7 separate regions of the Homo sapiens genome follow, and all the other regions are linked to region 1. Evidence: promoter capture Hi-C in 16 types of primary human blood cells and fetal thymus (Javierre and others, 2016). All regions are on one chromosome and are shown on one strand. Each heading gives the region's core, a stretch centred on a gene start or on the middle of the fragment in contact. The rest is flanking DNA. Distances are from core to core; before and after follow the strand shown. Region 1 holds the start of MATN1-AS1 (MATN1 antisense RNA 1). Region 2 holds the start of YTHDF2 (YTH N6-methyladenosine RNA binding protein F2). Region 3 holds the start of ZBTB8OS (zinc finger and BTB domain containing 8 opposite strand). Region 4 overlaps SRSF4 (serine and arginine rich splicing factor 4). Region 5 has its middle 5.4 kb from the start of SRSF4. Region 6 overlaps MECR (mitochondrial trans-2-enoyl-CoA reductase). Region 7 overlaps PTPRU (protein tyrosine phosphatase receptor type U).

The links. The method cuts DNA at HindIII sites, captures the fragments that hold promoters and counts their contacts. A CHiCAGO score of 5 or more calls a contact.
Region 2: a contact is called between the fragment with the promoter of YTHDF2 here and the fragment with the promoter of MATN1-AS1 in region 1, in 2 of 17 cell types (M0 macrophages and M2 macrophages). The highest score is 5.9, in M0 macrophages.
Region 3: the fragment with the promoter of ZBTB8OS here is called in contact with the fragment with the promoter of MATN1-AS1 in region 1 in 1 of 17 cell types (naive CD4 T cells); the score reaches 5.3 in naive CD4 T cells.
Region 4: a fragment that was not itself captured here is called in contact with the fragment with the promoter of MATN1-AS1 in region 1 in 2 of 17 cell types (naive CD4 T cells and total B cells); the score reaches 6.7 in naive CD4 T cells.
Region 5: a fragment that was not itself captured here is called in contact with the fragment with the promoter of MATN1-AS1 in region 1 in 10 of 17 cell types (total B cells, activated CD4 T cells, naive CD8 T cells and 7 more); the score reaches 14.4 in total B cells.
Region 6: a fragment that was not itself captured here is called in contact with the fragment with the promoter of MATN1-AS1 in region 1 in 5 of 17 cell types (activated CD4 T cells, naive B cells, total CD4 T cells and 2 more); the score reaches 10.9 in activated CD4 T cells.
Region 7: a fragment that was not itself captured here is called in contact with the fragment with the promoter of MATN1-AS1 in region 1 in 17 of 17 cell types (naive CD8 T cells, naive B cells, megakaryocytes and 14 more); the score reaches 36.8 in naive CD8 T cells.

What each region holds. Positions count from the first base shown.
Region 1 is chr1:30,717,291-30,720,119 of GRCh38, reverse strand. MATN1-AS1 (MATN1 antisense RNA 1) reads right to left here and starts at 1,348. Exons shown (of 4, transcript NR_034182.1): 1 at 555-1,348. It overlaps MATN1 (matrilin 1), which reads left to right. Exons shown (of 8, transcript NM_002379.3): 3 at 1,163-1,385. RefSeq lists silencers at 736-825, 1,386-1,905, 1,946-2,125 and enhancers at 483-1,058, 1,156-1,325. The HindIII fragment of the contact is 4,958 bases long and covers 1-2,829 here.
Region 2 is chr1:28,735,512-28,738,340 of GRCh38, reverse strand. YTHDF2 (YTH N6-methyladenosine RNA binding protein F2) reads right to left here and starts at 1,401. Exons shown (of 5, transcript NM_016258.3): 1 at 1,194-1,401; 2 at 659-683; 3 at 3-82. The coding sequence starts at 1,220. RefSeq lists enhancers at 795-904, 787-1,685, 2,005-2,054, 2,585-2,829. The HindIII fragment of the contact is 4,406 bases long and covers 1-2,339 here.
Region 3 is chr1:32,648,971-32,651,799 of GRCh38, reverse strand. It overlaps ZBTB8OS (zinc finger and BTB domain containing 8 opposite strand), which reads left to right and starts at 1,250. Exons shown (of 7, transcript NM_178547.5): 1 at 1,250-1,367. The coding sequence starts at 1,271. RBBP4 (RB binding protein 4, chromatin remodeling factor) reads right to left here and starts at 592. Exons shown (of 12, transcript NM_005610.3): 1 at 478-592. The coding sequence starts at 493. RefSeq lists enhancers at 1-43, 204-792, 793-1,380, 2,514-2,653 and a silencer at 344-913. The HindIII fragment of the contact is 3,350 bases long and covers 895-2,829 here.
Region 4 is chr1:29,168,901-29,171,729 of GRCh38, reverse strand. The region is part of intron 1 of SRSF4 (serine and arginine rich splicing factor 4); the gene reads left to right. It also overlaps a transcript of MECR not described here. Among named protein-coding and RNA genes, the nearest start is that of SRSF4, 12 kb to the left of the region's middle. The HindIII fragment of the contact is 289 bases long and covers 1,270-1,558 here.
Region 5 is chr1:29,185,934-29,188,762 of GRCh38, reverse strand. It overlaps a transcript of MECR not described here. Among named protein-coding and RNA genes, the nearest start is that of SRSF4, 5.4 kb to the right of the region's middle. RefSeq lists enhancers at 860-1,504, 1,505-2,150. The HindIII fragment of the contact is 2,574 bases long and covers 147-2,720 here.
Region 6 is chr1:29,203,672-29,206,500 of GRCh38, reverse strand. The region is part of intron 4 of MECR (mitochondrial trans-2-enoyl-CoA reductase); the gene reads left to right. Among named protein-coding and RNA genes, the nearest start is that of SRSF4, 23 kb to the right of the region's middle. The HindIII fragment of the contact is 6,958 bases long and covers 1-2,829 here.
Region 7 is chr1:29,243,821-29,246,649 of GRCh38, reverse strand. All of the region lies in intron 1 of PTPRU (protein tyrosine phosphatase receptor type U), which reads right to left. Among named protein-coding and RNA genes, the nearest start is that of PTPRU, 8.7 kb to the right of the region's middle. RefSeq lists enhancers at 1,228-1,729, 2,315-2,815, 2,816-2,829. The HindIII fragment of the contact is 3,912 bases long and covers 1-2,829 here.

The sequences.
Region 1 (2,829 bases), core at 99-2,598:
GCCTCGGGATGGCAGCGAATAGTCACAGCTAGATTTTCAGAGCCAGGAGCCCAGGCCCCTGGAGAGGAAGAGATTGTACAAAGTCACTCCCCAGGTAGCCCAGGGTAATGATGGTAAAAATAATAGTTGCCCCTTCTGGCTTCTAACCAGGAGTCATCTCACTCAACCTCACCACAACCCTTTTTACAGTTGAAGACACTGAGGCTCAGGAAGGTGACCTGTAGCTTGTGGAGCTGCATTTCTAAACACGGCCTGTCTCAACTGCCTGTCATCAGGACAGGGTGTCAGGACCTGGGGCTAAGGATGGGACCCAGGAATCAGAAACAGACCCAAGTCAGAAGCAGAGAAGCAGCAAAGCGGGACTGGATGCCTAACCCAGACTGGGCAGAGCTGGGAGCGCCCTAGCCTCAGGGCGGGTGCAGACAGGGGGTCACGAAGCCGGATCTCAGTGACAGAGTCCGCCACCTCTTTCTTTCCAGGGTACAGACCAGAGGAGCCTAGTGGGAGGGGAGCAGGCAGATTCTTTCCCTCTCTGGCAGGGGCATGTATCATACCGGGGAGTGGAGGAGGATAAGGGCGGCATCTTTCTTGGGTTGGTCCCTTGGGCATCCACATGGGAGTGGCCCTCCGTCGGTTCCCTGGTCCAGGGTCCCCGGTCTTACCGGGACAAGGACAGCAAGACGGGAGACGGCAGCCCCATCCCTTAGCTTCGGCTGCCATCTGGTGGCCAAAGCGCAGAACTGCACCATGTGGAACCACCGGATCCCCCCACCCAGCCCCGGCCGGGCCTCCCGGGGGCACGAGGGGCGTGGCACGACTCCCACAGCCATCAGCCTGAGGACCCTGCCCTCAGCCGCCTCAGTCTGAGGGGAAGGCATGGCCCTGACCTTAGAGACCCCAATTTGGCGATGGGGCATCACATCCCTCCGGGCATCTCAGAGCTGCCTGCCCGAGGGAGGCGAAGCAGATGGAAAGCCCCCCAGCCACGTCTCTCAGTCAGAGGAAACGGGTCTCCTCTTCGGCCAGCCGGGTCCTCTTCCCCCGGGTGCCGCCTGGCTGTGCGACCCGGCAGTCCTCCCGCCTCTCCGGGCCTCAGCCTCCTCTCCTGGACAGTCCCGTGGGCTTCCGGGAGCCCGGTGTCACACCGCCCCGCGTGTCGCAGGTGGTCATCGTGGTGACAGACGGGAGGCCCCAGGACAGCGTGCAGGACGTGTCTGCGCGGGCCCGGGCCAGCGGCGTCGAGCTGTTCGCCATCGGAGTGGGCAGCGTGGACAAGGCCACGCTGCGGCAGATCGCCAGCGAGCCGCAGGACGAACACGTCGATTACGTGGAGAGCTACAGCGTCATCGAGAAGCTGTCCAGGAAGTTCCAGGAGGCCTTCTGCGGTGCGCGGGCAGGCGGGGGCGGAGCCAGGGCAGGGGCGGAGAAGGGGAGAGCGGCGGGGCGGGGCCAGGGCTGGAGGCGGGACCGAGGCTGAGGCGCAGACGGAGCCAGCGCCGGCGCAGGGCAGGGGCGGGGCCGGGGGGGGGGCAGAGGCGGAGACGGGAGAGAGATAGAATGTCAGTGCCGGGGCGGGGCCGGGGAGGAGCCGGGGGCGGAGGCGGAGACGGAGAGAGTCAGCGCCGGGGCGGGGCAAGGGTGGGGCCAGGGCAGGGGCGGAGACGGAGAGAGCGGCGGGGCGGGGCCAGAGCAGGCAGGGGGCGGGGCCAGGGCAGGGGCGAAGACGGAGACAGTCAGTGCCAGGGCGGGACCGGGGCGGAGGCGGAGAGAGTCGGCTCCAGGGGCAGGGCCAGGGCTGAGCGGGACGAGGCCGTGGCAGGCGCAGAGACTGAGAGTCCGCGCTGAGGCGGGCCAAGGCTAGGGGCGGAGCCAGCGCTAAAGTGAAGACAGAAAAAGTCAGCGTCGGGGGGCGGGGCCACATCAGAGGGCGGGGCCTGGCTGGGGCGGTAGCCTATAAAACGGCGGGAACTGAGTTACACGGCAACATCAGGGCGGGGCCAGGGCTAGGGACACGGCTTAGGTGGATTGGGGGTGGAACCTGGATTAGACTGAGGTGGTGCCAGCACCAGGGGTGGGGCCGTAGCTGGGGCGGAGCCTGATAACGGAGGAGGGTCTCCAGCCCCAGGTTAAGGGAGTTGGGGAGAGGCGATGTTAAGAGTCCTTTTATGGCCGGGCGCGGTGGCTCACGCCTGTAATCCCAGCACTTTGAGAGGCCGAGGCGGGCGGATCACGAAGTCAGGAGATCGAGACCATCCTGGCCAACATGGTGAAACCGGTCTCTACTAAAAATACAAAAAATTAGCCGGGCGTTGTTGCGGGCGCCTGTAGTCCCAGCTACTCGGGAGGCTGCGCCAGGAAAACGGCGTGAACCCGGGAAGCGGAGCTTGCAGTGAGCCGAGATCGTGCCACTGCACTCCAGCCTGGGCGACAGAGCGAGACGACTCCGTCTCAAAAAAAAAACAAAACAAAAAAAAAAACCGCACACACAAAAAACAACAGAGCCCTTTTATGTGGCAGAATCCTGGCAGGGACCAAGGAGGGCCCAGAGCTCAGGAAGGAGAGCTCCCAGAAAACCTACACATGTTTCTGTGTCGTGAGTTTTGGGTGCCAGAGTTTTCTGTGATGCGGGAGAGTCTGAGAGGCCTGGGCACTGGCAGGAGAAGGTTCAGAGCCCTTCTCGGAGGGGAGGTGTGTGTGTGGGTCTTTGGGATGTGACCCGCAGGGGCAGGGTGTCCAGTAGGACAGGATCAGGGTTAGGGCAGGGACTTTACCCATTTGTAAAATGGGTCTAAGAAGAGCATGCACGTTATTGAGAGGATCCAGTGAGAT
Region 2 (2,829 bases), core at 152-2,651, 2.0 Mb after region 1:
ACGGGCCTTGCCTGTGGACTCAAGTAAGGTTCAAAATCATCATCGTTTAATCCATCCTTTTGATGTACAGATCCATTTTGTACTAAAGAAAAAAAAATTCAATTAGGAGTGTCCCAATCCTACAATCTTCCTTTCAAATTAGTTCATATATGCTAACCAGAGAAAAACCTTACTAGTTAACAAAGCACGTAAGATTGAACTTCAAAAGGGTAAGAGATGACAGTGAATGCTGAAGCGACAGTCGCCAGTGAAAATGTCCCCCTCCACCCAGAGCAAGTTGATCTAAAAAGGTCATTTTATTGGCTCCTCTGGATTTCCATTCCCTCCCGCTTCCCCTCCCCCATCACATGAGAGTACTTCCAGAGAGTGATCCACGAGGATGAAAAACAAAGGCCTTCTAAGACCTACAGGAAACTAAGGACCTGGAGCGTTTCAAAACCCAATCCACCCCCACCCTTAATGAATTACTCCTTGTTAGCGAAAAAGCTGTTCGCCAGCTGCAAGAACACACCGAAAGGGTCAAAATACTTAAGTGTGCGGCACCTGCGAACTAAGCGGCTTCCGAAAGGTCCTCCGCCCGGGGCGCTTCCCGGAGACCCCGCCCCCACCGCCCCGCGTCCCCCTCCCGGCTCAGGGCCACCGGCGGAGCGGGACTTACCTTTGTTTCCTTGACCTTTTGGTCTCTGCAGGGGAAGGAAACGTCGCCGAGCAGCAAGTTGTCCAAAGGAGAAATGGAAAAGGAAGAACAAATTAAGGCAGGGCCCGAAGGGAGAATAAAGGAGCAGGCCCGAGGGGAGGCGTCAGGAATGGTAGTGAGGAAGAGGCTGAAAATGGGAGGCGGGGGAAAGCGCCAGGCCCGTGGGGCAGGGGAGAAAACGCGGCAGACGCGCCACCGGCGACGCGAGGAACCCAGGGCTTTAAGGAAGGGGAAGGAAACAAGGAAGGAAAACGAGGCCCGCCGAGAGAAGGGAACGCGGCGCGGCCCGGCCCGTGGGCTCCGAGGCCCGAGGAGAAGCGGGAAGAACAGGCTGAGGGAGAGGCGCCGGGCGCGGCCGGCCTGAGAGGCCCGAAACCTGGCCCGCAAGAGACGACGCCTCGGCTCGGCTCGGCCTGCCCAGGAGCGGCGGGCCCGGGCCTAGTCGGGCTCCTTCTCGCCTCACACAATGGCCGAGGCATGCGGGCCGGGCCTGTACCTGCTCCAAGAGGCTGCTGGCCGACATGGCTCTCAGATCCTCACGGGCGGCGACGGCGGCGAACTCTCCTCAGCGCGGCGGCGGCGGCAGATGAGCCCCGTCTGCGGGAGCAGGCGGAGGCTTTTGTCCCTGACACTCGGGGGCCTCGGCGGACGCAGCGGAGACACAGCGCGCGGCTCAGGCTCCGGCTCCGACTCGGCGACGCTCTAGCCCAAGAGCTCAATGCCCGTCTCTATGCTTTTACGCGCGCGCCCGCCCCCCACCGCCTAAAGCAGAGCGCCGAACAGCGGAGGCGGGCGGCGCGCGCGGCGCGAGCGCTGACTCTCACATTCACTCACCCACGCGGAAGGGGCCCGGCGCGAAGAACCCCGGGAAGGGAGAGGCCGGCCGCTGCGCCCTCTGGCGGATTGGAGGAGCGGAAGCCGTGCTCACGGCCTCCCCGCCCCCACCGCCCCAGGATTAAGGCCTAGGGGGTTTGGGACGACCAGGGTCGCACCACGAGGTTTCGACTAACACCTGGAAAGACTAGCTCTGGCTTCAGAAGAACGACAAAAGCCGGTTTCTCAGTGAGGGAGGGGCCTCCGAAGCCCGCGAGACCTTAAAATGAACCTGCCTTCCAGCTGCAAGTGATACCCCACCCCCATCTGGGAGGTAACCCGACCCCTAGGGAGTCACACAGTCCCCAGGGAAACTTCATGGGGGCCCTGTCCGGGAGTGACCCGCCCCCGCCCCCGCGAGGGGCTTGGTCATCCTCTGTTAGCCGACTACAGAAAGAGTACCCAGAGAGCAAAACACACACCGAAAGAATCCAGTCTCCCGCAAAAGAGATTCACCCCTTAGCATTGCAGGAAGGAGAATCTACAATTTATTTTCGGGGAAATCGCTGGCCCCAAGATAATCTGTTAAATTGTGGACTTTATTTCCAAGAAAAATACACCTCATGCATCTACACAAAACTTTCAAGGAGTCCGGAGAACCTATGAATCTTAAGGACCTCAAGAGGGAAGCAAGGAAATTAACATTATTGAAATACCAGCTGTGGGCCAGGCTTTGTTGTTAGGTATTTTCAAACACATTAAAGTCTTTCGACAACTTCAAAATCGCTATCAGTCTTTCGGTTTTTTACGACTGGAAAAACAGAAAGCTTAAGTAATGTGCCCAAGTTTACAAAACTATTAAATAGCCAGGTGTATCTGACACTAACATAATGGTATCTCTCTACCCCTACGAGACTCTGTATTAGGGAACCAGAATATAGGGGAGATGCAAAGGATGGGCAAAAGTATTTTCAATCAGAAGCAAAGCCAACTCATGCAGGAATATTTGATACTAGGAAAGCCCATCTAATAGCTTTTGTTATTGCAAGTACGTCGTGGTAAACAGGTAACTAATGCACTAATTGTCAACCTCGTACTATCCACACGCTGGATATAGGAGGCTTGGGTGGACTCGGTAAAATAAATAACATGGCATCTTGGATTTAACATCATAATTTGGTCAAAGTGCTCAAAGCACTTTTTTTCTCTGCCCATAATCACATTTATGGTAGGAATGAGTAAGGTCAGGCACCAAAGGTGAAGGACTTTTAATGGAGACAGTAAAATGTCAAGTCTGGGAGCATAGATTCCATCAAGGG
Region 3 (2,829 bases), core at 1-2,500, 1.9 Mb before region 1:
AAATCCCCACGGCAGAGGCATCCACACTCTCCACTTTCGCGGCGCCGAAACTCCTCGGGCCATCCCCGCCAAACACTCCGTTACCCGTTCCAGGCCAAGGGGCCAGCCAGGCCTTCGGAGCACGCTCGTGCGCGCCGAAACTCACAAGCCCGACGAGGAGGCCCGAGCTCCGAGCCTTGTGGGTAGGAAGCGGTGTCCCCACGCTCGGGACAGAGGCCGAGAAACCGATATCGGAGGCAGGAAGAGAAACAAACACTGGCCGGGGGCCCCACCGCTGGCTTCGCCAGCTGCGACCGAAATCGGTCCCAGGGAACTGGCGAGCCGTTAGCACGCCCCGCGGGGAGTTCCCTCTTCACGCCTTCAGTACCGGGGACTGCACTCGGCAAACTCGGGCCTGCCCTCACTGTTAGGCCATGTCGAGGCCGCGGCTCAGCCCAGGCACCCACTGCCCTCCTGGGTCGGCCCCGGCACCCTCACCTTCCTTGTCGGCCATGGCGGGCAGGCGAGCCGGGGGAATCCTGGGGTCGAGCGTTGCGGGAGGGGCGGGGAGGCTGCAAGAGCTCGCTCTGTGCGCGCGGCCTCTATTGTTTCCTGCGCCCCCAGCGCGAGGGCTGACTCGCGCACCTTCGCGCCAACATCAGCCAATGGGAGCGCTCCTAATGGCGGGATGGGCGGGGAAGCCGCGTTCGCGACCAATCCAGACGCGCGGAGTAGCTTTCCGCGGGGACCGAGGCGCGCGCTCCGCCCCTCCCCCCACGCCTCCCCGAGCCGACTTCCAGCGATTGCGCGCGCCGGCGTTGACGGGACTGCGCCCGGTCAGGGTCACGTGAGAGAGGTTTGGTCCGCACACTCCCGCGGCAAGAGGGCAGCCATTTTCTTGAAGGCTATTAAGCTTACGACCCTTTCAGAGTACTGAGATGAAAAATCTAGAATGCCTTCGGGTCTAGTTATCAATTTTGGGGGTGAAGCGGGGGAAAGAACCTCGCCAGTCAGACCCAGACGGGTTTCATTCAAGGTGCCCTTCAACGTTTTTCCTTAGTCTTTGGAAAGAACTAGTAATGAAGGAATCGCAGAAGATGGGGTTTTGGCTTTTTAAATATGCGATCCAAGCGGCAGGGTAGGGACTAAAGTAGGTCAACAGCCAACTCCGAGAAAGGAGTGTGGTCCTTTAAGGGTGTGCGCCAAGGGGCGGAGTCTAGAGCGGAAGTAGTAACTCCGGGCCGAAGTCCGGTGGATGAAGGGCGGAAGTAGAGTGTCTAATCCTGCAGTCATGGCGCAGGAAGAGGAAGATGTTAGAGATTACAATTTGACTGAAGAACAGAAGGCGATCAAGGCCAAGTATCCGCCAGTCAATAGGAAGTACGAGTGTGAGTAGGTGGCTTACTTCTCTCTTTACATGTAAGCACACAGGCATCCCCTCTCCTTACCCGCGGCTTCCTGCTGCTCTTTCTACTGTGCCCCATGGGTACTTCAGGCATGATCCCATTTGTGCCGGCTGTTGTAGTCGCGTTCGTACTTCTCCTGGGGATGCTGAAGGAAAAAGCCACCTGGTTTAATAGTCGCGAAACCTGGCCTCCCTCATTTACAGTCTCTTGAACTTCTTCCACATGTGCCTAATCACATTTATCTTCGTAAATTCTAAAGATAACCATATTTTCAGGCGTTTGCAGGGTTGTTACCCCCATGTATTTCCCAACGGTGAGATTAGAGTGTGCGAGGTTAGAGGACTCGGAAAGCTAATTAGGGGATTTCTAACTTGATGTTTCACCTCGATCATATTAGCAAAAAACCTGGTTTTGCCATTTATGATTGTGATTTTTAAAAATGATTATTTTAGGCCGGGCTCGGTGGCTGAGGCCTGTGATCCCAGCACTTTGGGAGGCCGAGGCGGGCGGATCACCTGAGGTCGGAAGTTCGAGATCAGCCTGACCAACATGGAAAAACCCCGTCTCTACTAAAAATACAAAATTAGCTGGGCGTGGTGGAGCATGTCTGTAATCCCAGCTACTCGGGAGACTGAGGCAGGAGAATCGCTTGAACCCGGGAGGCGGAGGTTGCGGTGAGCCGAGATCGCCCCATTGCACTCCAGCCTGGGCAACGAGCGAAACTCTGTCTCAAAAAAAAAAAAAAATGTGTGTGTGTGTGTGTGTGTGTGTGTGTGTGTGTTTTTAGAGATGGGGTCTCGCTCTGTCGTCCAGGCTGGAGTGCAATGGAGCGATCATAGCCCGCGCTGCAGTGCCCAGCTGGTTTTGCCATTTATTCGCTTAGTGACTTTAGGCAAATCACATAACCTATCTTTGTCTCTTAAATTCTATATTAAACGTTAAGCTGTCATCCCTAAAGGTAGCTGTGGTTTGGGGAGCACAAATCTGACTTTTATTTATCTGCTTAAAATCTTTCATTAATTTCTCATTGTCCTCTCTGTAAAATCTACTTATTTACCATAGTATTCTAGGCAATGTGCTTTCTGGAGCTGGCATACCTCCTAGCATATCCCCTTCTCTCACTTAAAAACAATTTTAAAATATTATAGGCCGTTTGCGGTGGCTCACACTTATAATCCCAGCACTTTGCGAGACTGACGTGGGTGGATCACCTGAGGTCAGGAGTTCCAGACCAGCCTGGCCAACATGGTGAAACCCCGTCTCTACTAAAAATACAAAAATTAGCTGCGCATGATGGTGGGCGCCTGTAATCCCAGCTACTCGGGAGGCTGAGGCAGGAGAATTGCTTGAACCCAGGAGGGTGGAGGCTGCAGTGAGCCGAGATCACACCACTGCACTCCAGCCTGGGCAACAGAGTGAGACTGTCTCAAAAAAAAAAAAAAAA
Region 4 (2,829 bases), core at 165-2,664, 1.5 Mb after region 1:
CTTCCAGGTACCCAGAACCGCAAATTTTACTTTGAGCTCCTCAGAAGAAAGGTGCTCCAGGCATCTGAGAGAATACCGTTGGGGTGATACTTACAAATTTGTAAGCTAACACTGAAATCTTAAAACTTCCGAAAATATTAATGCATTTGTATGACTTATTTTTCAACTGAGTATGTCAAAGTACTTTATGAACAAGTGTTGTCCCTAGTTTGTACTGATGGGGAAACTGAGGCATGGGGTGATAAGGTGACTGGCCCAAGGTTACAAAATGAGTTATTGACAACTCCGGAAATAGAAGATTTTTTAAATTCCCATACTAGATACATGTGGGCATTGACATTCAAAGCTTCCCTCATGCTATTTCCTTTAGTCCTGTCCTTTGGGGATTGCCTCTGAGGGTGAGAGGGTAGTTCAGGTTTCCGGGCTTGTTCAGCCTTTAGTCTCTGTAGAGGCTTCCAGCAAGCTGACAAGTTACTGCCAAAAGTGAGACAGATGGTATTTTTTATGATGTTGTCCTTAGTTGGAGACTGCTAGTGATTCTCCTCCTCAGGCTACTCTTTGAAAAGCTGTAAGGTGGTATCAGCTTTATCGTGGTTGGCTGAGGAAGGATTTGTACAAGTAAATGTTCTCTGCCTTATTGTCATTCCTAGGGCCGTCTGGTCTTATAGTACCCTGAAGGTGAGGGATTAGATTATGCTCTGAATTTGTATGCCCATAGTTTGAGGAAATGTTTTACTTGAGTTTTCTGTGTGTTGAGATGAAAGTCTCCCAGGCTAAAGATTTCTGAACTGCACGCAATGTCTGAAGAAGCGCTTGAAAGGCACTTTATTTCTCCCAGGTCCCCAACCATGGGTTTAGGTTTTTATGCCAGAAAGGGGACCTTCATGAACAAAGACCCCCAAGACCTAGAGAGAAGAGGAAGTCTGAAAGAGGGAGGTTTGAATTCAGCCTTCAGGAATGAAGAGGGCAGACAGAGCAGGAGGCTCAGGCAAGGGAGTCAGGAACCACAGACCAGAAACATGGACTTGGAAAGGTTTTCATGTAATTGAAATGAAGCTATTGATCCATCCATTTTAAAAGAATTTGAAAAATTCATTAAAATACTTAATTAGTGGCATCCACTAATTAATAAAAGCATAGGGAGTGGCATCTTTAACCAAAAATGAAAATGAAGAAACAGACTCCAGCCCAGGGACCAGGGGCGATTATGAGGGACATGGTGCCTCATACAGCCAAGATGATCCAAGAGGCATCATCTTTAATGAAGCTTTAACACCTGGCAGCCTGCTCATTGTGTTGTTTAAGAGGTAAGTATGAACTGGTTTTGTTTGTAGCTTTTGTGTGGAATCAGGTAGTGCTGTCTGCAGAGTGTAAACCTTTATTTCTTTAAGTAGGAATAACAGATAAAGTAATTCTATATTAAATCCCAAGAGTTTTATTCTAAATTGGTAATGTGACTTTCATCTCTCGAGTTTTTTCAAATCGTTTTTAATTTGTGGTTGAGTCTTCACGAACTTCTTGTCATCAGGCAATAGTTGATTCCCCTTTTTTGAAAGCTTTCAATTTCATTTATCCTTAGTGTTGAAAAGTGTCAGAAAATTGAAATGGACACAGATGATTGTATCTGCCCTCCCTTTCAGGAAAGCCATGTTGACTTTAAAATATCAAAAAAGAAAGTTCAGTTATGATTGCAGGGGGTAATGATAGTTTGATCCACAAACTATTTGCAGTGTAAAAGTGAAATACCTTAGCTGACTTAGTTCATTTTTGAAAGTTTTGAATAGCTAAAACAAAGTTGGCAAATAGGCTCATAGAGTAGTTACAGAGTAAGACTAAATTCATATTTGATGCAGATTCCTCTCTACCTCCCATTCTGGGAGGATTTAGTTTTACTGTTTGGTGTTTAGGATAATGATTGTTCTGTTTTTCTCACCCTACTATGTGAATATATATTCTGTTAGAGATGGGCTGTTATCTGCAATGTGGACTCAATACCATGGGCTTGAGTTTGGTTAGTTCATCATTAGAGATTTTTTTTCAGCAGTTGGTTTACTTTATGAGAAAGGATCATGAGTTTAATTTTCCCACTGATATATTTGTGTTCTCATTGCTGAGATATAAGTTTCTTAATGATTTGTTACCTTTTTCTATTTTCCTAGACTAGTATTAAAATTTTGATGGCATATGGGTTTGGTTCCACTTGTAGAGAATAAATGTTCACAACTTACTGGTATTAGCACACACACATCACATGCAGAAATGGTGTTTTCTTGCCACTTACTCTTTCTCATAAGATGCTTATATTCCTGTGGGCATTTGTCTTCCACACTACAGCACATAATTTGATGAAACTGATTTTCTGTGCAAGAGCTTGTGTTTCTCCAACTCTGGTTTTATGGACCACTTTTCATTGGTATATAGGAGGCGGTTAAAACGTGGTGGTAGAATGCAGGTTTTAGGTTAGCTGGGTGTGAAGAATCCCAGGTCTTTGGGATAGTCTTGGCAAGTTACTCAACTCCTCTAAGTTAGTTTCTTGATCTGTCAGATGACAGTAAACCTCAGAGTTGTGAAAATTAAATGGATATAATGTGTGTAAAGCACTTAGCATAATGCTTTATACATCGTAAAACTTTCAAAAATAGGAGTAGTAATTATTACAAAGAAATGTGAAGAAGAGTCCTAGTGGGCTGCATGTTAAAAATAGTTTTTAGTTAATGAAAATTAAATCACATCTTAGATGTTTATCATCTGCATGGTACTTTTCTGGTTGCTGCTTTAACCTTTGTATAGTTGAAAGTCTGTAAACTTTCTAGTATTCTTTGATTTCTG
Region 5 (2,829 bases), core at 184-2,683, 1.5 Mb after region 1:
GAGGCTGAGGCAGGAGAATTGCTTGAACCCGGGAGGTGGAGGTTGTAGTGAGCCAAGATCGCGCCATAGCACTCCATCCTGGGCAACAAGAGTGAAACTGTCTCAAAAAAAAAAGACAAATAGGCATTACCTGCTAAAAAAAAGCTTGAGCGCACCTGAAGCCCTGCAGCTTCCTGACTCTGCCATCTCTCCCTGTCCTCTTCTGGGACCATCCACCCAGTGACTACCTATAGTTGCTGCCACAATATTGGTAAATGGAGGCCAGGCGCAGTGGTTCATGCCTTTAATCCTAACACTTTGGGAGGCCAAGGCAGGCAGATAGCCTCAGGTCAGGAGTTCGAGACCAGCCTGAGCAACATGGAGAAATCCTGTCTCTACTAAATTAATTTGTACTAAAAATACAAAATTAGCCGGGCGTGGTGGCAGGCACCTGTAATCCCAGCTCGTTGGGATGCTGAGGTAGGAGAATTGCTTGAACCCAGGAGGTGGAGGTTGCAGTGAGCCAAAATTGCACCACTGCATTCCAGCCTGGGCAACAGAGTGAGACTCCATTTCAAAAAAAAAAGTAAACTCCAAATCCTTCCCATGATCCTTGAGGCCCCTCAAGATCTGGTCTCTCCAGGAGTTCGAGGCTAGCCTGGCCAACATGGTGAAACCCCATCTCTACTAAAAATACAAAAATTAGCCAGGCATGGTGGTGTGCGTCTTTTTTTTTTTTTTTTTTTTGAGACAGAGTCTTGCTGTGTTGCCCAGGCTGGAGTGCAGTGGCACAATCTCAGCTCACTGCAAGCTCCGCCTCCTGGGTTCACGCCATTCTCCTGCCTCAACCTCCCGAGTAGCTGGGACTACAGGCGCCCACCACCACGCCTGGCTAATTTTTTTGTATTTTTAGTAGAGATGGGGTTTCACCATGTTAGCCAGGATGGTCTCGATCTCCTGACCTCATGATCCACCCACCTGGGCCTCCCAAAGTGCTGGGATTACAGGCGTGAGCCACCTCGCCTGGCCTGTGGCGTGCATCTTTAGTTCCAGCTACTTGGGAGGCTGAGGCAGGAGAATCGCTTGAACCCAGGAAGCAGAGGTTGCAGTGAGCTGAGATCGCACCACTGCACTCCAGCCTGGGTGACAGAGTGAGACTCTGTCTCAACAAAAAAAGGAAAAAAAATTTGATAAATGTGTTTTCTTGGGATATGAGATAATTACGCACACTTTCCTCAGGGGAAGACTGAGGCCGAGAAGAATAAAGCTCTTGCGGCCAGGCATGGTGGCTCACGCCCGTAACCCAGCACTTGGGGAGGCTGAGGTGTGCAGATCACCTGAGGTCAGGAGTTCGAGACCAGCCAACATAGTGAAACACAGTCTCTACTAAAAATACAAAAAAAATTACCCAGGCATGGTGGCTCATGCCTGTAGTCCCAGCTACTCGGGAGGCTGAGGCACGAGAATCGCTTGAACCCGGAGGCGGAGGTTGCAGTAAGCCGAGATCTCACCACTGCACTCTAGCCTGGGCAACAGAGTGAGACTCGGTCTCAAAAAAGAAAAGAGAAAAGCTCTTGCGTTAACCTGTGTGTGCCAGGCTGTACTTGTGCATGGAAACTCTCAGAACACCCACCAGCCCCATGCTTATTGTCAGGCACCATGCCCTGAGTAAAGCACTAGGCCAAGCCACAGCAGCTGGAAATGGTGGAGAAGAGAAGGCTCAGTCCTGGCACAACATCTGCTTGCATCTGAAGGCAGGAACATTCCTGGGAAGACAGCAGGGCTAGCTGAAAGGTAAGTGGAAAGGAGACATTGGCACCTTATGAAAGAGAAAAAAGAGATTCTTAGAAATTTCCTATGTCATTGAGATGTTAATGTCACCACTTTACAGAAGCAGCAGCCTCCCAGAGATGTGAAGTGAGTTGTTCCAGATCACACAGCAGGCAGCAGAGCTGGCACTAGAAGCCAGATCCCCTGACCATATCTGGTCACTACAGCAGACAGTCCCAATTCTTTTGGCTCCACAGGTGGCCTTGGAGGTCCCACTCTTCTCACGAGTCCTTGATTTTGTTCTTGACATGTCAACTGGAAGAGCATTCAAATTTCCCTGAGTCTGTGTCTCATGGGGAGGCATGAGAAAAAGGCAGAATCAGGAGGCCATTGAAGTAGTCCAGGTAAGAGATTATTTATGTATTCATTCAATAAGTATTTTAAACGCTCTTTATGTGAAAGGCACTGTTGTTAGGGGCTAGGGATAGAGCAGGAAACAAAAAACATGGCCCCTGAGACCAGCGAGCTTACATTCCAGTGGTGGAGAAAGACCATGCACAAGTAAATAAATAAACCAGGTAATTACAGACTGTGTAGTAAGTGTTGTGAAATATGACAAACAACACTTGAAATAAGGTGGACATGGAAGGCCTCAGGCCTGAATAAGAAGGAGCCAGCTGTATTCCAGGCAGAGGAAGTAGCGCATATCAAAGCCCTGACTGTGAACAGTCTGATGAGGCCTGAACTAGTTTAGGAAGTAGGAATGGAAAGAAGGAATGAATCTGTGAATATTTAGAAGGAATAATCAGAAGGACAGACTGAATGCAGTGGTTGAAGGTTGAACTTTGGCACCTCGCTGATGGTGGTGCCACTTGCATTGGGGAAGGAGGAGCAGGTTTTAGGGACAAGCATTTCCCCTCTGGAGGGCTCTCTTTCCCATCTGTACAATAGGTTAATATAACAACCAAGCTTAGTGCTAGGATTTTTGTTTTCGTGGTTTTTTGTTGTTTTTGTGTGTGTGTGTGCATGTGATGGGGTCTCACTCTGACATCCAGGCTTGAGGACAGTGGCATGATCACA
Region 6 (2,829 bases), core at 225-2,724, 1.5 Mb after region 1:
TCAGCAAAAATGTGTTGAGCTGGGGCTAAGCTCTGGGATACAAAGGCAGACAAGATAGACACAGTCCCTATGTTTTCAATAAAATGCTGAACTTAGTGTTAATAATTCCACTCAGCGTTTACATAGCACTTTCCAGTTCACAGAAGTGCGTTGACAGGCATTATCCCCGTTGAGTGCATGAAATCTTCACAGCATTGCAGTAAGGTTGGTACCATCATTGGTTAAGAGCTCAAGCTCTGGGCAGATAACCTGGGTCTGACCCCAGGCTTCACCTTTCCCTGACTGTGAATTTGCCTCTCAAATCATCAGATTTTTCTTCTGTAAAATGGAGAATAAAGAACGTGGAGGGTGAAACACTACAGCATAATACTTCACACAGTGCTGGGCATACAGTGCAGAGACTGTCCGCTGCTTATATTCTTCTTCCCTTTCATAAATGGGAAAACTGAGGTCCAGAAAGGTAAACTATTTGCATGAGATCAGCCAGGGAGTAAATGACAGAGCCAAGTGTTTTTATTTGGGTTTCTCTGAAAGCAGAGCCTAAGACCAGCACTGGGTGCAGAGAGTTTGTTTGGGAAGAAGAAATGAAGGGGAGTGGGGAGAGTGAGACAGAGATGGAGGCAAAGCCCATGAAGCCCGGTTACTGCTGCGGGCAACTACTGCTCCGGCTGTTTTTTTGAGACAGTCGTGCTCTGTCGCCCCGGCTTGAGTGCAGTGGCGTGGGCTCACTGCAACCTCCACCTCTCGGGTTCAAGGGATTCTCCTGCCTCAGCCTCCCAGGTAGCTGAGACTACAGGTGCCTGCCACCATGCCTGGCTAATTTTTGTATTTTTAGTAGAAATGGGGTTTCACCATATTGGCCAGGCTGGTCTCTAACTCCTGACCTTGTGATCCGCCCACCTCAGCCTCCCAAAGTGCTGGGATTACAGGCGCGAGCCACCCACCCCCAGCCGGCCTGCTCAGTCTTGCTGGGGCCCTCTGAAGACTCTCAGAACCCACTGCAGAATTAACCCTTAAGGCCAGGCATGGTGTCTCATGCCTGTAATCCCAGCACTTTGGGAGGCTGAAGCTGGCAGATCACTTGAGGTCAGGGGTTTGAGACCAGCCTGGCCAACATGGTGAAAACCCGTCTCTACTAAAAATACAAAAATTAGCCCGGCGTGGTGGCAGCGCCTGTGACCCCAGCTACTCAGGAGGCTGAGGCAGGAGAATCGCTTGAACCCGGGAGGCGGAAGTTGCAGTGAGCCAAGATTGCACCACCGCACTCCAGCCTGGGCAACAGAGCAAGACACCATCTCAAAAACAAAACAAAACAAAACAAAACAAAAACTAACCCTTGAATGATGAGAGGCTGGGCCAGTTTTCCACTAATTCTCACACCCCATTGTTTAAGGGTCGCCCTAAGGGCATTAACCTCCTGGGCTGCCTCTGCACACCATGCACATCCATGCACATCCGTGAGCCGCAGTGGCTGTAGAACTCACCCAAGCCACCTCTCATACCAGCGAAGAAACTGAGGCCCACAGTTGTTGGAGTGTGATGAAACATGGTGCCCAGCCACTGTCCAAGGCCTGGCTGAAAGCCGATGCCAGTTCCCACAAGAGAAATATAGGTTTCTTGCAACTATGGCAGATGGTTCCTGGGAGCCTTTGGTGGAGAAAGCCAGTGGCTGTGACCAGGGACCTTTGCTGGAGTCCTAGTGCAGCAGACACTTTGTTTGCTTGCATCCCATGCCCTAAAGCCACCTCCCATTTAGGCTGCAGCTGTAGTAACAGATCTAGGCATTTCGACGCTGCCCACCCTAAGTACCCACTGCACACCTCTCCACTTTCCTGCCTCAAGGCTGATATGGCCTGAACTAGATCACTGTTGAATAAACTTAGGATCTTGACACATGGTAAGAATTACATTTTATATTGTGATCAGTTTATACAAATAGGAATATATATATAATGGAAACCAAAGTTTCGTGAAATACCCTTACTATGTGTGACATACTCTGTTATTTTTTATTCTCTTCTCAATTTTAACTTTAAAAAAAAAAGGTGCTTGCAACCAACTAGATTGATTCATAATCCACTGGTGGGTGACAACCTGTACGTTGACCCCTGGTGAAGACGAGTGGGCATTCTTCTTCCAGGAAGTCCTCTATCTCTAGTTTCAGCCCGTTGTGTGACAGATCCCTGCTGCCTCTCAAAAACCAGATAGCATTTCAAATTCAACAAAGCACTTTCCCGGACACGATGCATTTGACTCTAATCGGGGGCACTTTTTTTTTTTAATAGAGGGAGTCTCGCTCTGTCACCCAGGCTGGAGTACAGTGGCGCGATCTCAGCTCACTGCAACCTCCACCTCCCGGGTTCAAGCGATTCTCCTGCCTCAGCCTCCCTAGTAGCTGGGATTATATTTTAAGGGAAGGAAACTGAAGTTCACAGAGGTCATGACTTGCCCTGTCTGTTTAGTTACAATCATTGGTGAAACTGAGACTCATGCCCAGATCTGTCTCATTCCAGAGCCCACATTTTTCCCAGCATGTCACACCGCCTTCCCCAATGGCCAGGTCCAAAGCTAAACCTGGGCTTTGCCACAGAACTGTAGGACCCTGTTTCAGGGGCTGCCAGTTTCTCCAGCGCAGCTGTAATCCCATTTCAAGGCAGTGCACCTTTATTAAACACTGCAGAGAGGAATAGGGCATGACCCTTCCCTCTCAAGAAGCTGCAAGCTGTTGATAGAAATGGACCTATATACAATGAAGTGTAAGATGGGGCAGACCGTGGTATGTGCATTAATACAGATGCCCACAGAGCACTGTGGGAGCACATAGAGGGA
Region 7 (2,829 bases), core at 203-2,702, 1.5 Mb after region 1:
AGTGAGATTCCATCTTAAAAAAAAAAAAATAGATGCTGTGTGGAACCAGTGGATTCAACGCAAGGGCTCTGGGTCCCGCAATCCGGTAGAGTGCACACAACCCAACAGTGAACAGGTTCGTTGCAGGGTAGAGGCCCTGGGCAGTAATCCTGTGCAGTGCACGAATGCAATGTCAGATACTGTGCAGTGGTGCTGCCTTTGCAAACCTAAGCCAGTCCTGAAGCCCAAGAAAGTGGTCCCAAGCTGTACTATAGATATAGACTCCCTGAGTCATGTGCAACGTGGGGCAGTGAGGACACTCAATGCAAAGATGTTGTTCACGTAGGGCTGACAACAAAAACCTGGAAAAGGACGCCAGCCTACAGATACCATGGTGGTAGGAGCGTGAAAGGCCAGGACACCATAGGGGCAGCGTTTCAGCAGCAGTGGTGCAGTGCAAGGGCTGGGCCATGAGGCACATATCCAGTGCAGCAAAGCAGTGCACATGCACAGAAGTGCTATATGGGGCAAAGTGCACTGTTGGTACAATGCAACTGTGGAATGCAGAGGGGCCATGCCCAGAAACTCAGGAAAAGTTCACAGTCCTGATGCAATACTGACGTCCATGCAATAGTGCAGTGCAGTACAGAGATGCTGTGTGATGCCAAGATGCAATGTTGTGGTAGCATGCCATCTGTTGGCACGGTGCAGTGCTGCAATGCGAGGAGCTATGCCCAAACCCCAAAAGAGTCCATGTGCCCAATGCAATGTAGACTGCCTGGTGAGGCAATGGGGTGCAGAATATAAATGCTCTATGACACAAACATGCAATGTGGCCACAGAAAACCATGTGTTGATCTCAGACAGTGGTGCAGTGTGAGCAGCTCCGCCCAGAAACCCAGGAGAATTCACCTTCCCAATGCAACACTGACATCCAGCAGAGTGACACAGTATACAAGAGAGCAGCAAAGACACACACATGGCAGGACCATGGCAGGATCATGGCAGGATGGAGGCACGGTCCAATGGGACAATGCAGAGGCAGAGCATGCAGAAACTCAGGAGAACGCACACCCTCAATGCAATGCAGCAATCCCAGTGAAGTAGAGGGCTGAGACACAGGGCTGTGCAAGGAGGCTGGACCCAGGAATCCCAGACAGTGCACATCCAGAGCAGTCCAGAGCCTGGCACGCTGCAACAGTGTTGCTGGGAGGGTCATGATGCCTCCCTGTGATGCACTGGAGGAGAGGGGAGCTCAGATCCCTGGAAAACTCTCTACCTACAGCTCTGCCCGGCCACGCTGGCTCACCCCACAAGTTGGGGGCCGAAATCTCATCTGGCTTGTCTCCCTCCCTCCAACATCTTCCACCCCAGTGACTCTCCAAGGGCAAAGGCTGAAGCCACTGCCACCCACAGGATAGGCCATCTAGAATCGAGCACATTGTCCAGGTATTATAACTGAGCAGAATCCCAGCATGCTGGCAGGAAAACAATGAATTCAAATTCTGCTGGTAAAGCTCTCAGACAATTAAAGTACAGCCCCTGGCCCCCAGCCCAGGGCAGGACAGAGGAGAGATAGAGAGAAAGACCTATTATTGGATAAGGCCCTGGGACAGGGTGAGCAGGAAGTAGGATGAACAAGAGGTTAGGATGTCAGAGAAGAGCCAGACTCAATCAACCTGGCTAGGCACTCCCCAACCACCACCCCCGTCCCCACCACTATTACTCCCTCCCAGGCCTGGACTTCATCAGAAACCAAGAACAAACTTTTCTGGGCACACAGGATGACCGCACGCATGCAAATACACACATCATAACAGTGATCACTTACACAGTGCTTACTATGTGCAGGACCTGTTCTAACCTACATAATCATAACCATAAAACATATCCTCATGACAAACGCATGCAGTGTGTCCTATTATTATCCCCATTCCACAAATGAGAACTCTAAGGGCCCAGAGAGGTCAGTAACTTACCAAAGTATCACACAGCTAGAAGTGGTGGGCTTAGGATTAGAACCCAGATGGTCTGGGCCCTGAACCCATGCTCTTAACCACCACACGCTAGACAAACACATATTGACAGGCATGCCCAGCCACAAGTCCACATGCACGCTCCTGTAAACACACATACATACACATTCTAAGCAATGTATTTCCCACTCTCAGCTGAGACTCACCTGTCCTATCCACTAGGTTTCTGATAGCTCCCAGTTGTCACCTCTTATCTCCACCTCTTATCTTATCACCCACATCTCCTTGTTCTATCATCCACCTGTCCCCCAACCCTCAGTTGTTCCCCCAATACCGCCTGTCCCTTCACTGTCAGCTGTCCCATCCCCCAGGTATATCTTTCCCACCAGCTATCTTCTATCCGCCAGTGGTCCCCCAGGCCTCAGCTGTCACCCACCACAGTGGACATCTGACAGTGTGCTGCGGTTTTCCGTCTCCTTTTTCCACTAGTCTGGGAGCCCCCGGGGGCTGAGCTGTCACCCCACCCCTAGCTTTAATCTTGCCCTGTCAAATATCCTCAGCATCTCCCCTTCCTAACAGCCCCATCTCAATCTTTCTCCCCAGCTTCTGCCCTCAAACTCCCAAGCCTCAGCGGCCCTCCAAGCCCCCTTTCTCCTTGTCCCTTCTGAGTCATCACAAGGTCTTGTGGTTTGCATCTTGGGAATCTGCCCAAGACCTCCTGCGTCATCTGGAAGCAGCATCTTCTGAGCTGTCCCCCTCAGGGGTCCTCCCACAGTCATTCTGCAGGAAATGGCAGCCCCCAACCCAGAGCCAGAGGAGGAGGCATAGCCAGCCCACCCATGACTGTGCTGCAGAACCCCAGCTCCTGCATTCA